2 separate regions of the Homo sapiens genome follow, and region 2 is linked to region 1. The links are contacts of gene promoters, found by promoter capture Hi-C in human tissues and cell types (Jung and others, 2019). All regions are on one chromosome and are shown on one strand. Each heading gives the region's core, a stretch centred on a gene start or on the middle of the fragment in contact. The rest is flanking DNA. Distances are from core to core; before and after follow the strand shown. Region 1 holds the start of IL10RB (interleukin 10 receptor subunit beta). Region 2 overlaps PAXBP1 (PAX3 and PAX7 binding protein 1).

The links. The method cuts DNA at HindIII sites, captures the fragments that hold promoters and counts their contacts. A contact is called where the count stands out against the background at its distance.
Region 2: a contact is called between a fragment that was not itself captured here and the fragment with the promoter of IL10RB in region 1, in 1 of the 25 tissues and cell types used here (dorsolateral prefrontal cortex).

Annotation. Positions count from the first base shown.
Region 1 is chr21:33,263,249-33,268,316 of GRCh38, forward strand. IL10RB (interleukin 10 receptor subunit beta) reads left to right here and starts at 3,119. Exons shown (of 7, transcript NM_000628.5): 1 at 3,119-3,266. The coding sequence starts at 3,218. The region is part of intron 7 of IFNAR2-IL10RB (IFNAR2-IL10RB readthrough); the gene reads left to right. IFNAR2 (interferon alpha and beta receptor subunit 2) reads left to right here. Exons shown (of 9, transcript NM_001289125.3): 9 at 1-2,416. The coding sequence ends at 252. IL10RB-DT (IL10RB divergent transcript) reads right to left here and starts at 3,012. Exons shown (of 2, transcript NR_038974.1): 1 at 2,815-3,012; 2 at 2,384-2,654. RefSeq lists enhancers at 2,635-2,694, 2,725-2,794 and a silencer at 2,965-3,374. The HindIII fragment of the contact is 10,877 bases long and covers 1,197-5,068 here.
Region 2 is chr21:32,731,176-32,738,434 of GRCh38, forward strand. It overlaps PAXBP1 (PAX3 and PAX7 binding protein 1), which reads right to left. Exons shown (of 18, transcript NM_016631.4): 16 at 6,998-7,144; 17 at 6,079-6,233; 18 at 2,724-3,892. The coding sequence ends at 3,775. PAXBP1-AS1 (PAXBP1 antisense RNA 1) reads left to right here. Exons shown (of 4, transcript NR_038879.1): 2 at 2,414-2,482; 3 at 7,097-7,166. Among named protein-coding and RNA genes, the nearest start is that of PAXBP1-AS1, 6.7 kb to the left of the region's middle. The HindIII fragment of the contact is 7,980 bases long and covers 1-6,592 here.

The DNA of each region.
Region 1 (5,068 bases), core at 1,869-4,368:
AGAGTTCTTGATGACGAGGACAGTGACGACTTAGAAGCCCCTCTGATGCTATCGTCTCATCTGGAAGAGATGGTTGACCCAGAGGATCCTGATAATGTGCAATCAAACCATTTGCTGGCCAGCGGGGAAGGGACACAGCCAACCTTTCCCAGCCCCTCTTCAGAGGGCCTGTGGTCCGAAGATGCTCCATCTGATCAAAGTGACACTTCTGAGTCAGATGTTGACCTTGGGGATGGTTATATAATGAGATGACTCCAAAACTATTGAATGAACTTGGACAGACAAGCACCTACAGGGTTCTTTGTCTCTGCATCCTAACTTGCTGCCTTATCGTCTGCAAGTGTTCTCCAAGGGAAGGAGGAGGAAACTGTGGTGTTCCTTTCTTCCAGGTGACATCACCTATGCACATTCCCAGTATGGGGACCATAGTATCATTCAGTGCATTGTTTACATATTCAAAGTGGTGCACTTTGAAGGAAGCACATGTGCACCTTTCCTTTACACTAATGCACTTAGGATGTTTCTGCATCATGTCTACCAGGGAGCAGGGTTCCCCACAGTTTCAGAGGTGGTCCAGGACCCTATGATATTTCTCTTCTTTCGTTCTTTTTTTTTTTTTTTTTTGAGACAGAGTCTCGTTCTGTCGCCCAAGCTGGAGCGCAATGGTGTGATCTTGGCTCACTGCAACATCCGCCTCCCAGGTTCAAGTGATTCTCCTGCCTCAGCCTCCCTCGCAAGTAGCTGGGATTACAGGCGCCTGCCACCATGCCTAGCAAATTTTTGTATTTTTAGTAGAGACAGGATTTTACCATGTTGGCCAGGCTGGTCTCAAACTCCTGACCTCAAGTGATCTGCCCTCCTCAGCCTCGTAAAGTGCTGGGATTACAGGGGTGAGCCGCTGTGCCTGGCTGGCCCTGTGATATTTCTGTGAAATAAATTGGGCCAGGGTGGGAGCAGGGAAAGAAAAGGAAAATAGTAGCAAGAGCTGCAAAGCAGGCAGGAAGGGAGGAGGAGAGCCAGGTGAGCAGTGGAGAGAAGGGGGGCCCTGCACAAGGAAACAGGGAAGAGCCATCGAAGTTTCAGTCGGTGAGCCTTGGGCACCTCACCCATGTCACATCCTGTCTCCTGCAATTGGAATTCCACCTTGTCCAGCCCTCCCCAGTTAAAGTGGGGAAGACAGACTTTAGGATCACGTGTGTGACTAATACAGAAAGGAAACATGGCGTCGGGGAGAGGGATAAAACCTGAATGCCATATTTTAAGTTAAAAAAAAAAAAAGCAAACACAAAGATGCTTCAAGATCTTCAGGAGAAGTATGGTATACAAGTTTCAGGGACCCTATTTGACAATTTTCAGAGTGCTCTCTATGCTGATTCCGAGTCGAGTGTGTCAGCTGTGATTACAGTGCCTGTGGATCTAGGCCGGGTTGGGGGGGTGTGGGCGGGGGAAGGGAAGTCTGGCCCGGAGCAATTGCTCCTGCCGGTAACCCCAGCACTTTGGGATGCCTAAACAGGCGTATCGCTTGAGGCCAGTAATTCGAGACCAGCCTGGGCAACATGGCAAATCTGTCTCTACAAAACAAAATTAGAAAAATTAACTGGGCGTAGTGGCATGTGCCTGTTGTCCCAGCTACTTGGGAGGCTGAGGTGGGAGAATGGCTTGAGCCCAGGAAGCGGAGGTTGCAGTGAGCCAAGATCATGTCACTGCACTTCAGCCTGGGTGACAGAACCAGACCCTGTCTTTAAAAAGGGAGTTGGTGGGGAGAGGTTCTAGAATGTCATGTAGCAACCAGTTTAAGGACTGGGACTCAGGGATCCAACTCCCACAGTTTCCCTGTGTGACCCTAGGCATTTGACTTAGCCTTTCTGAGCCTCAGGTTTTTTGTTTCTGAAGTAAAAGGATTGGACTAGGTAATCTCCAAGATCCTAGGAACCCAGGAGAAAGATGAGAAAATGTACAAGAATGAACACTCAGGTGGAAATGCTGCAATCCTGAGAAGCTCCCAGGATGAATGAAAGGCACAGGACCTCTTACCCCTCACCCCTGCCCCCCTCAAGAGCTGGTTTCTCAAACCTTTCTCTTAGGCCCCTTCAAAGGGGGAAAACTAAAAATTATACAAGTTATAGTTCAAGGACTTTAAATAGATTATTTATATGATTGCTCATAAGGATGAGGCTGTGAGGAGGGAACACCTTATTTAATCTAATGAAATTCCATAGGAAAGAGGCCTTTTGTATATTGAATCAATTTATCTGCCTTCTCAGTGCATCTGTCATATTCTGAAAGATTCTGGGTTGATCTTTTGCGATAACCTCTATGGCTGTGAGTGTGTGTGTGTGTTTGTGTATTTTTTAACATTTTGTATAATGATTGGAGGTTGGTAAAAAGTAACACAACAGTACTTTTTTAATACAAACTTGGTGTGGTCTTGAGTTGTCTTCCATTGGAGAGCGTACGTGTGCCACAGATTGGTGCACCTGCCGGCATCTCTAGGATTGCACCAACTCCCTCTAGCTCTTCTTGGTGGCCTGCAGGGGCCTAGGGCGCATTCACTTCCCTCTGCTTGACTTTACGTGGTGTTCTAGCGTCAGACATCAGGCGATGCCGTGCATTACCCAAGACACTGGACAGCTCCGGATCTTCCCGTCTAACCACTAATCAAGTTAAAAAGAGGAAATTAACGCTTTCTTAGTAGTCTCTGAAAGAAACTAGTTATTTGCGTAAAGATGACTTGGTTTTGTGTTGTTTATCCCTGGGGAGAAGGGTAAAGAAGACCCTCAAACTGGATTTGCTGCTGAAGTGCTTTTAACTCACCTGTGCGGAGAGCGGACTTCAAGAGAGGGCGTGCCGGTGCTCCGGACAAAACCTGGGGAATACTGAAAGCCACCACCACCACCGTCATTCCAGCATGCAGATCTCAGTCCTGGGTTGGTGTTGTAGGGCATTTATTTATTTGACTTGACGGCGCCTTTCAAAGCTTGCGAGGATCCCTTCCTCTTCCTCGTGTGCATCTGCCAAGCCTGTGCCCCGCGCCTCGCGGGTGGACCCGGGCTGGTGGGCGGGGCCTGCAGCGGGGTGGGAGCCCGGTCGCCCGGCCCCTCCCCACCCCGCCCCGCCCATCTCCGCTGGTTCCCGGAAGCCGCCGCGGACAAGCTCTCCCGGGCGCGGGCGGGGGTCGTGTGCTTGGAGGAAGCCGCGGAACCCCCAGCGTCCGTCCATGGCGTGGAGCCTTGGGAGCTGGCTGGGTGGCTGCCTGCTGGTGTCAGGTGAGGGGTCCGCGGGGAGGGGGCGCGCTTGGGAACCGGGAGGCCCCGCGAGATGCCGCCCCTGATCCCATCCCTGGGCGCCCTGCAAGTGACTTAAGAGCCTTCGGGGCCTCGGGAGAGAAGATGCAAACGCCACGGCCGGCTGCTGAGACGCAACTAGGCTGCTGCTGCCGTCGATTCTGTAACAGGAGAAAGCCCCATCCGCGCCCGGATTACAGACCGTCTGGGCCCTAAACTCAGGGGGAGACTCCCGGCGTCTTTTGATTCCCTGTCCTCCTGCAGCTCTCTGCTGGCGGGCGTCTAAATAAAGTAGCTTCCCCAAAAGACCCAAGATCCCACCGTGGCTGTCATCTGACCCTTCTGGAGACTATCAGTTCAAGTGGAGGCCCCCACCAGTCCCCGAGTGCCCTGACAGCCCTCCCTGACCCCAAGTCTGCCCCCTCAGTGCCAGCCCTCCCTACAGATGTGCCTCCCATCACCCGCTGCACCTCCCCTCCTTCCGGTTCAGGCCCGAGCACCCTGAAATCTGGATTCTGTCCCCCAGCGCCCCAGCTCCATGGCTTCTAAACCTAAATCCATTGAAACCTTTTCTGTCCTCTAAATTGACTGCCTAGGTTCCAATAACACCATGGTCACCTCCTTCCTTTCTCATGAACTCTTCCCTGGCCTTCCGGGATACCCCTCCGGTTTCCCGCCCTGTCAGGCTGTCTCTGCTTGGGACCCTCCTGCTCTGTCAGGTTTCTATGTAGCTAATTGTGATGCCCAAGGCCTTTTCTCTCCTTCCCTGGCACTGTTCCTTTGGGGGATTTCAGCCAAACCCTGGCATTAAACACGGGCTATAGGCCCATGACTCGCACATTTATATCTCTCTTGGTACCAGTTGGGTGATGGGTGGTGGTTTATTATAGTCTTCTACTTTTCTACTTGCATGTAGGTTTCAAATTTTCTTTTCTTTCTTTCTTCTTCCGTTTTTTTTTTTGTTTGTTTGTTTTTTTGTTTTTTTGTTTTTTTTTGAGACAGGGTTTTGCTCTGTTGCTGTGGCCCAGGCTGGAGTGCAGTGGCTTGATCTTGCCTCACTGCCACCTCCGCCTCCCGGGTTCAAGCGATTTTCCTCCCTCAGCCTCCCGAGTAGCTGGAATTACAGGTGTGTGCCACTACGCCTGGCTAATTTTTGTATTTTTATTGGAGATGGGGTTTCGCCATGTTGGCCAGGCTGGTCTCGAACTCCTGACCTCAGGTGATTCACCTTCCTCAGCCTCCCAAAGAGCTGGGATTACAGGCGCGAGCCACCATGCCTGGCCAGGTTTCGAATTTTCTATTAAAAGGTTTGAAAATAATTTCTGTCTCTAGCCCACATCTCTTCTTGGTGTGACCTCTGGGCTCATTCATCTGGCTGTCTCCCTGACATTCCTACTTCAGCCTCTCTCCAGCATCTCCAACCTAATGCAGCTCAAATGGGACTCGTGAGTTCCCCAGCTGAGCTCCAATCGGGGCACCAGCTGCTTAAGCCCAAAATGGACATTGACCTCAGCTTTTATGCATCAAATGTATCAGGAAGTCTCCAGTTTGTTTTTACGTCTGGAAATATATCTGAAATCCATGTGCCCACCCTACCCCCTCATAGCTTTCTGCCACCAGACAAATCCAAGGCTCCTTTGTCTGTCCCCATTTTACTCCTGCCCCTCCAGAAATTTCTCCTCACGGCTGTTCAAAGAAAATCTAGACTCCTCAGCACAGCCAACCTGTCTCTCCCTCCCTCACCCACGTGGCCTTTGAAGACATGGAGCCATAGAGGAGAACCA
Region 2 (7,259 bases), core at 1,353-3,852, 530 kb before region 1:
TCTTTAAAGAAATTCATTGTAACCAGTGAAGGATAAGATTTTAAATTAGAAAAATGGAAATCCTATGAATAAAAAACTAGTAAGCTTGAGAGCAGAATCACTGTGGAAAAAAAACAGATTGAAAAATAACTTGCAGGTATCATAGACAGGAAATTGCCACTAGAGAAAACAGGAAACTTGTGATAGATAAAAATGAAGTATTTTCATTTGGAACAAGAGACCAACTGAAGAGAGATCAAGTGAAGGGGGTTTATTTTAATGAAACACAAAGATTCTTGTGGAAATCAAAGTGCCGGAGCCAGAAACAGGGCTCAACCTTCAAGATTAGAGCTGTATTCAAGTTGTTCAAGTTGGCTCTCGGTCCCAAAGCAACAGCAATGTCACTAAGGTTACAAGTAAAAGGTAAGCTTTCATGATCAAAATGTTTTTGCAAAGTAGCTTAAAATGGTTTCTGCAGTGTTTTGTCAAAACTTTTCTCATACATTTTCCTAAAGATATTTAGCAAGAGCCTAAGAAGTCATGTGCTAGGGATTTTCATTGTACTGAATGATTGTATCCTTTAAGCCGCTGCTGGAGTTAGGACTGACAGGAACGCAGTACAAATTACTGGGGGCTAGAGTCCCAAAGCAGGCCAGGGACCAGTCTACATTGCATGTCGATACCAATCCCATATAACAATATTCAGCCTGTGTTTGGGCAGTCTGAGGCAGCTTTTAGCAGCTGTGAACCCAGTATCCATGGACAGTTTCATTTCTGGAGGGCAGTCTTCAAAACGTTTATGAAAGTACACCTCCCATTCAGATATGTTTTTTTCTTCCTACATGTAGTGCTAGTGTTTTTCTCATTTTCATTTACTTGAAACAACAGATCAAATGTTTTGTCATAATCAGTGAATGGCAAGACTCCCTTTATTACATGGGTATTACCATGTTAGAGATAAGAAGAGCTCTTGTAACCATTAACAACCACTACAATGTAGCAACTTACAGTTTCCTATTTTATATTGCAGCTCTGTAACATTTGACTACTTTTGTAAGAGTTTCATGATTTCAAGGATGATTATTAGCATTTTCAATTTTTTGGCCAATTCTGGGTGCTGGTAATGTTACCACTGCAGGCAACTATGGCTCTACTCAACTGAAGACCTCTTATAGGCAATGTGGACCATACCTGCTTTCCTGAGAGATCAGCAAATTGGGTTTGGTCATCAGGAAATTCTGTCTCTCAGATCTCATACTAGCAAGGAGACCCCTGGTTGTACCTGTCAGAGCTGCCAGTTGGCCCTGCTGAAACTTTAGAACTGCACCAATGTCTAAGACTTTCATCCTCCTTCCTTCACACAGGTGAGACCTGCCTGCCTCATTGTCTGACAGCTTTCCCAGCCTCCTCCAGGCTCCCCTCCGTTTTCTCTTATACGCATTCCCCCAATAAACTTCCTGTACATTTAATACCATCTCAGTGTCTGCTCCCAGGAGGACCCTAACTGACACACTGGGGCATTTAGCCTCCAATTCCTTTTCTCCCTTGGCTGAGATCTGTTCCAGGAAGTATCTCCAGGACACTCCAGCCTGTTGCACAGGCCAAAGAAAAGCCCTCAGGCAGAGGAGCAAATACTTGCAAGAGGACACCAGTGGCAAGAACAGGGACATGGTGAGACTTCGACATCATTGGCTACAGTAGTACTAGTCACTCTTGACTGTGGTTTATGTTGTTTCAATAAAGTAGCTTTCCTTCTCAAAAACATTTGTCACCTATTTTGGAGTTAATTCAGAGGATTGCTCCAAAAGAAAAAACTGAAAAGCAAAACCAGCTTTATTAAAATGTAACCCTCTGGATTTATCTTTTGATAATTCCTTTCATAAGAAATAATGTCCTTAAGCTATTTCAGGAATAAAAATGTTCTGCTTGGGATAGAAAAACCATTGTTTTATGTACCCTACATCAAATTCCTAGTGTGATGTTCAAACCCATTCCTGAAACCAATATAGCCTGACAGATTTCATAGGATAAAAACTCTATTTTAAGAGTTCTTAAAAGCAGAGTAATTAGTCTAATGGGTTTGGAAATAATATGCAGTTTAAGGCCTAAATGATCTGTATGTGATACAGATACATGTTTTATGTTTTATTCTACTTAAGATGAGGAATAGGTGTTCTGACTTTAATTCTACTTAGTAGGCCAGTAAGGTGTAATGAAAAATTCATCCAGAATGAATACTGATTTGGTTTGGTTCTGTGTCCCCACCCAAATCTCACCTTGAATTGTAATAATCCCCACATCAAGGGCGGGACCAGGTGGAGATAACTGAATCATGGGGGGTGGTTTCCGCCATGCTGTTCTCCTGAGTTCTCATGAAATCTCATGGCTTCATAAGGGACTTCCCCCTTCCCTCAGCACTCATTTCTCTCTGCAGCCACCCTGTGAAGACGTGCCTTTCGTCAAGATTGTAAGTTTCCTGAGGCCTTCCCACCCATGCGGAACTGTGAGTCAATTAAACCTCTTTATAAATTACCTAGTCTCAAGTATGTCCCTATAACAGCGTGAGAATGAACTAATACAAATATGTAGGGATAAGATAAAATTAACAGAGCAAATACAGTGCATGACACTGTTCTGCATATTATGTCCTGATCAAGGGTACACATGGGCCTGCTCACAGTCCCACTTTATTAGAGTCATTTGAAATGCTGCAAATTTAGTCGTCAGGAAAATACAACAAAGGATATATTTAAAAATTAATTTAATGCTTGGCTAAATCTTAATTACATATATAATTATCAAACGATAGTCCTTAATTTCCAAAAAAATTCCTCTTTTGAAAATCACAGAATCAGAAAGCATAAACTTTAAAACAAGTTCTCTGAATATTTACAATGTGGTATAAACATTATAGAAGACCATGGATATTAAATTGCCTGGGTGTGGCTAATCAGCAAGGCGTATTCTTTATTGCATATTTAACTCACATATGTGGGATTTTAAATATGACAGACTACTAAAATTCAAATGCATGTATCTGCAAGCTGGGCAGGGAGTAAAATCATGAATGAGACAGGACGGTCAGCCCAAAACCATGCAATTAGGTTGTGGGTTTATTATTTTCAAAAGTGAAATTTCTATGTTCCATTTGAAACTATGTTGCATATTCATTTAGCATTCACATTAAACCCACATTTGACTCTAACGCTGATTCAAGGAAGAAAGTTCAACATTCACTCAATGACTAAGTCCACAACTCAACTCTCAATGTTAAGGCAGCACAGCTACAGTGATAGCAACGCTAACCAAAAGGTAATGAACATTTAGTCACTTGCCAGCCCTTTTGTTACAACAGTGTAGTAATTTCCCTAAGACAATTTGCTACCGGATAATTTTCTGCTGTTAAAAGGCTTCCTCTGTGGAAAAACACCACAAATTTCCAGTGTGAAAGTAAGTCCATGGTGGTATAAATATATATATGCATAATTACACAATTTACACTGCACACATCGTTTACAGGGGACAATTAACTGAGAGGGTTAATTTAAATGACCATACAAAATACTTCAGTAAACAAAGTATGACAGGCAGTAAAGAAAACATTCATAGACTCCTAGAAATAATCTGAATTCCTTTCATTCTGAAGAAATATCATTTAAGGACACAGTATTGAATATAATGTTTTTTGTATTAAAACAAGAATTGCTATTTTACAGTTTAAGAAACTTTACATATATACAAAATTTACACATTGGGAATGGTAATCAAGCAAATAGGTTTTTCAGTCTCATAGATCTATTTTCCTTCGATCAAAGACTTAAATTCTTTCACATTGTGGTCACTTGCAACAGACATAGCATGATCCAAAGCTCGAACACTTGCAAGGAGTTTTACTATCTGTTTTATGTTTTCCCTAAAAGAAAAAAATATAGCAGCATCTCATTAATTAGTATATCTAAGAGAAAATTTGCTACTGATTTCATGGCTATTTTAGAGCTTCTGCAATCAATTTTTCCAAGCACACATTTTCAAAGAAAGGAAACAGATATGCAAGCTACAGCATGTTAAAAAAAAAAAAGTTTACATTTATCCATATAGAACAAAACTTACATATGTTTAAATGACTAGCCCAGAGACAGGGGACCCATTTTAAAAAAGCAAAACAAAATTCATTGAGATCAATGAGTTTCATTAATATTGAGAAAGAAAAGAAAGCAATCTGTTTTCAAACTACTTCAGAGGCCTGTCTCCCATTCCTTCCCAAACCAGAGTCCTGGCTGTTTTAGCGTATACCTGGAACACAAATCGTTATTTGTGTCTCTTCATCACCAATCTGTCAAGATCCAGCATAATTTCCACTCCACCAAAATTCACTAAATAAAGTATAATCTGACTTTCCTTATCACTCCAGCTAGAAGTCATTCTGCTTTCTTACTAGGAAGTAATCCTCAAATTTTAGCACACATTAGAATTACCTAGAGGATTGTTGAAATGCAGATCATCCCTGGCCCCACCCCAAGAGTTCTATTCAAGAGGCCCAGAGTGGGGCCCCGAGAACTTGCAAGTCTATCAGACTCCCATGCCATGCTGATACTGCTGGTCCAGGGACCACACTTTAAGAATGACTGTTTTAACATTTAGCTTAAACCACTCACGAGAAACAAGACATAATATGACATTAGTAATTGTCTCATCTCTTCTACAGAATTGTAGTAAGCACCTATTAGGGAAGAATTAGAATTTGCAAAACTTTCCAACCCACATGAAACCTGCTTTATGTGCACTGCACAAAGCAGGTGCTTACATAGCTGTTAAAGTTCTTTTCTGTAGAAAAGTAAACACTATTTGTTGATATTTAACTTCCAAACAGAAACACTGTTAAATATATGTAAATCAAAGTTTAAAATGTGATAAAATTTATCTAGTAGAAAACACAGAGAAAAAAATATTAGTGCCAACAAATAACAAAATGGCACACACTAAGAACAAAATCAAATCAGCCAAAACCTGCCAAAGAATTTTACCATTAAAATCTTTTTTGTTGTTGTTTTTTGAGACGGAGTGTTGGTCTTTCACCAGGCTGGAATGCAGTGGCGCAATCTCAGCTCACTGCAACCTCTGCCTCCCAGGTTCAAGCAATTCCCCTGCCTCAGCCTCCCGAGTAGGTGGGACTATAGGCACGCACCACCACACCCAGCTAATTTTTGTATTTTTAGTAGAAACAGGGTTTCACCATGTTGGCCAGGATGGTCTCCATCTCCTGACCTCATGATCCACCTGCCTCAGCCTCCCAAAGTACTGGGATTACAGGCATGAGCCACCATGCCTGGCCTAAAATCTTTAATAGCTACTTTAATTTTATTGTGGAAAAAATATCCAATTTTCTTGCAGGAAAATAGGTCCTTTTTCAAGAAAGGGGAATGAGGGATCAGAAGAAGGTTTTGTTATAGGGGTATGACTAATGGTGTGATCTAAACAAAAATTAGACTTTGACATTATGAAGATATATGAAATTAAAATTTTAAAAAGACAATTCCTTCAAACTGCCCTACTTAGTGTTATTATTTACTTTTTATGCTAGAGATTTATCCCAGAATTACCTGAACACCCATAAATTAATGTCCACAGAAAGGCTAATGGTTCACTCACTCTTTTCTTACAACCCTTGATAAAAATTAGAAATAAGTTGCCCCAAAAAGCCATGAGTGATAACCTCTAGTTCATAATATTGATTAAAACAAAAAATCTCCCCAAATTGGGAGATAAACTTGAATTTAAATCTGCATAATGAAACTCCAAACAAGAGAGTCTGAGACCTCTCTAATTCTTCAAAGAGGGAGACAGAGAAAACAACCGTTTACTCACTCCCCTGAGGGTTGGTCCTTACCAGAAGTCTTTCCTTAGTATCTTCATAAATAACATACTGAAAAAAAGTAAAAACTGCTAAAATGAAAAATTATGTGCATTTTTGGTAGGTTTATAATACTAAGTGAACATACAATTTAAACTAAAATATAAACATCTCTACTTAAAACATTTTAATACTAAATCTGGCAACTAAACAACTCTAGATTACCATTTCATTAATTACAAAATTACCTTGCATTTCTTTTTTCCACATCAGAACACCCGATACTATTTCTATAAATTGTATCCGCTAAGTGTACAAGGTATCGGCAAAAGTTTTCTAACTGAGAAATAGTCCTTTCTCCTTTCAGATTCATGAACCATTGTTTGGGGAAACAATTGATTACCTGTGGAGAAGAAAGACGTAAAATAAAATAGTTAAGACAGAATAAATTAAAGTATTAAAAGCAAAGTCTAGTTAATGGGTATAAATGTATTTCACCAGAAGACGTGCTTCTGAGCTACAGCAATTACTCTGAAGAAATATTCTTTTAAATCTGACTTCCTACATTAACTAAACCAATATACCTAAATTTTTACCCCAACCAATGGGTTAGGCACTCAAAGCAAAAGATAATCTGTCCAATATTTGAGTAAATTAGTAACATAAAACTGACAACCAACTGCTTCATTTTCCAGTCTTCTAGGATGGCCTAAATATACTGAATTTCCTTTTCCAGCAGCTTTTGATGTAAAAATGAGTGGTATAAAAATGAAATTACAGCACCCCCATCCCCTGCAATAATTCCACGAATAGACATCCATGCATGCTGCTAAGGGAAGTCGAGTTGGCCCAGACTGAGGTTAAGATAATAAGGTTATTATTCTGAAATCAAAACTTTTATTTATACCTATAAAAATATCAAAACTTTCACTAATATCTATAAAAATATGGATATAGATGGATATATATATATATAACAGTATGCATTTTTATGTAAAAAATGCTGTAGGGGGTTGGAACTACCTGGGTAGGCAAACTGTCAACCTTACATGCAAGTCCAGTAATCAAAGGGGTTTCATAAAATTCTCAAATCCCTCTTCAAACAAACAAAAACTTAATTCATTTTAAATTATATGCTTTAAAAACTGTACTATGCATTTAACTCACATTTTGGGCTTTTTTGATGCTGTCATCTCCATATTCTGAATTCTGAAAAGCCATGAGAATATATCGATTTAATAAACCATCTATTGATAACTCTTGCAGAGTTTTATTTGAGAAAATGCCATACCACTGAAGAAAATTGCCTAACAGCTGGAAAGAAGAAAAAAAATAGGTAATGTGAAACAATTAGATTAGGTACAAAGTAAATAAGTTACATAGTAAAACACCATATGAAATACAGCAGACCATGTCTTGCCAAAGTACT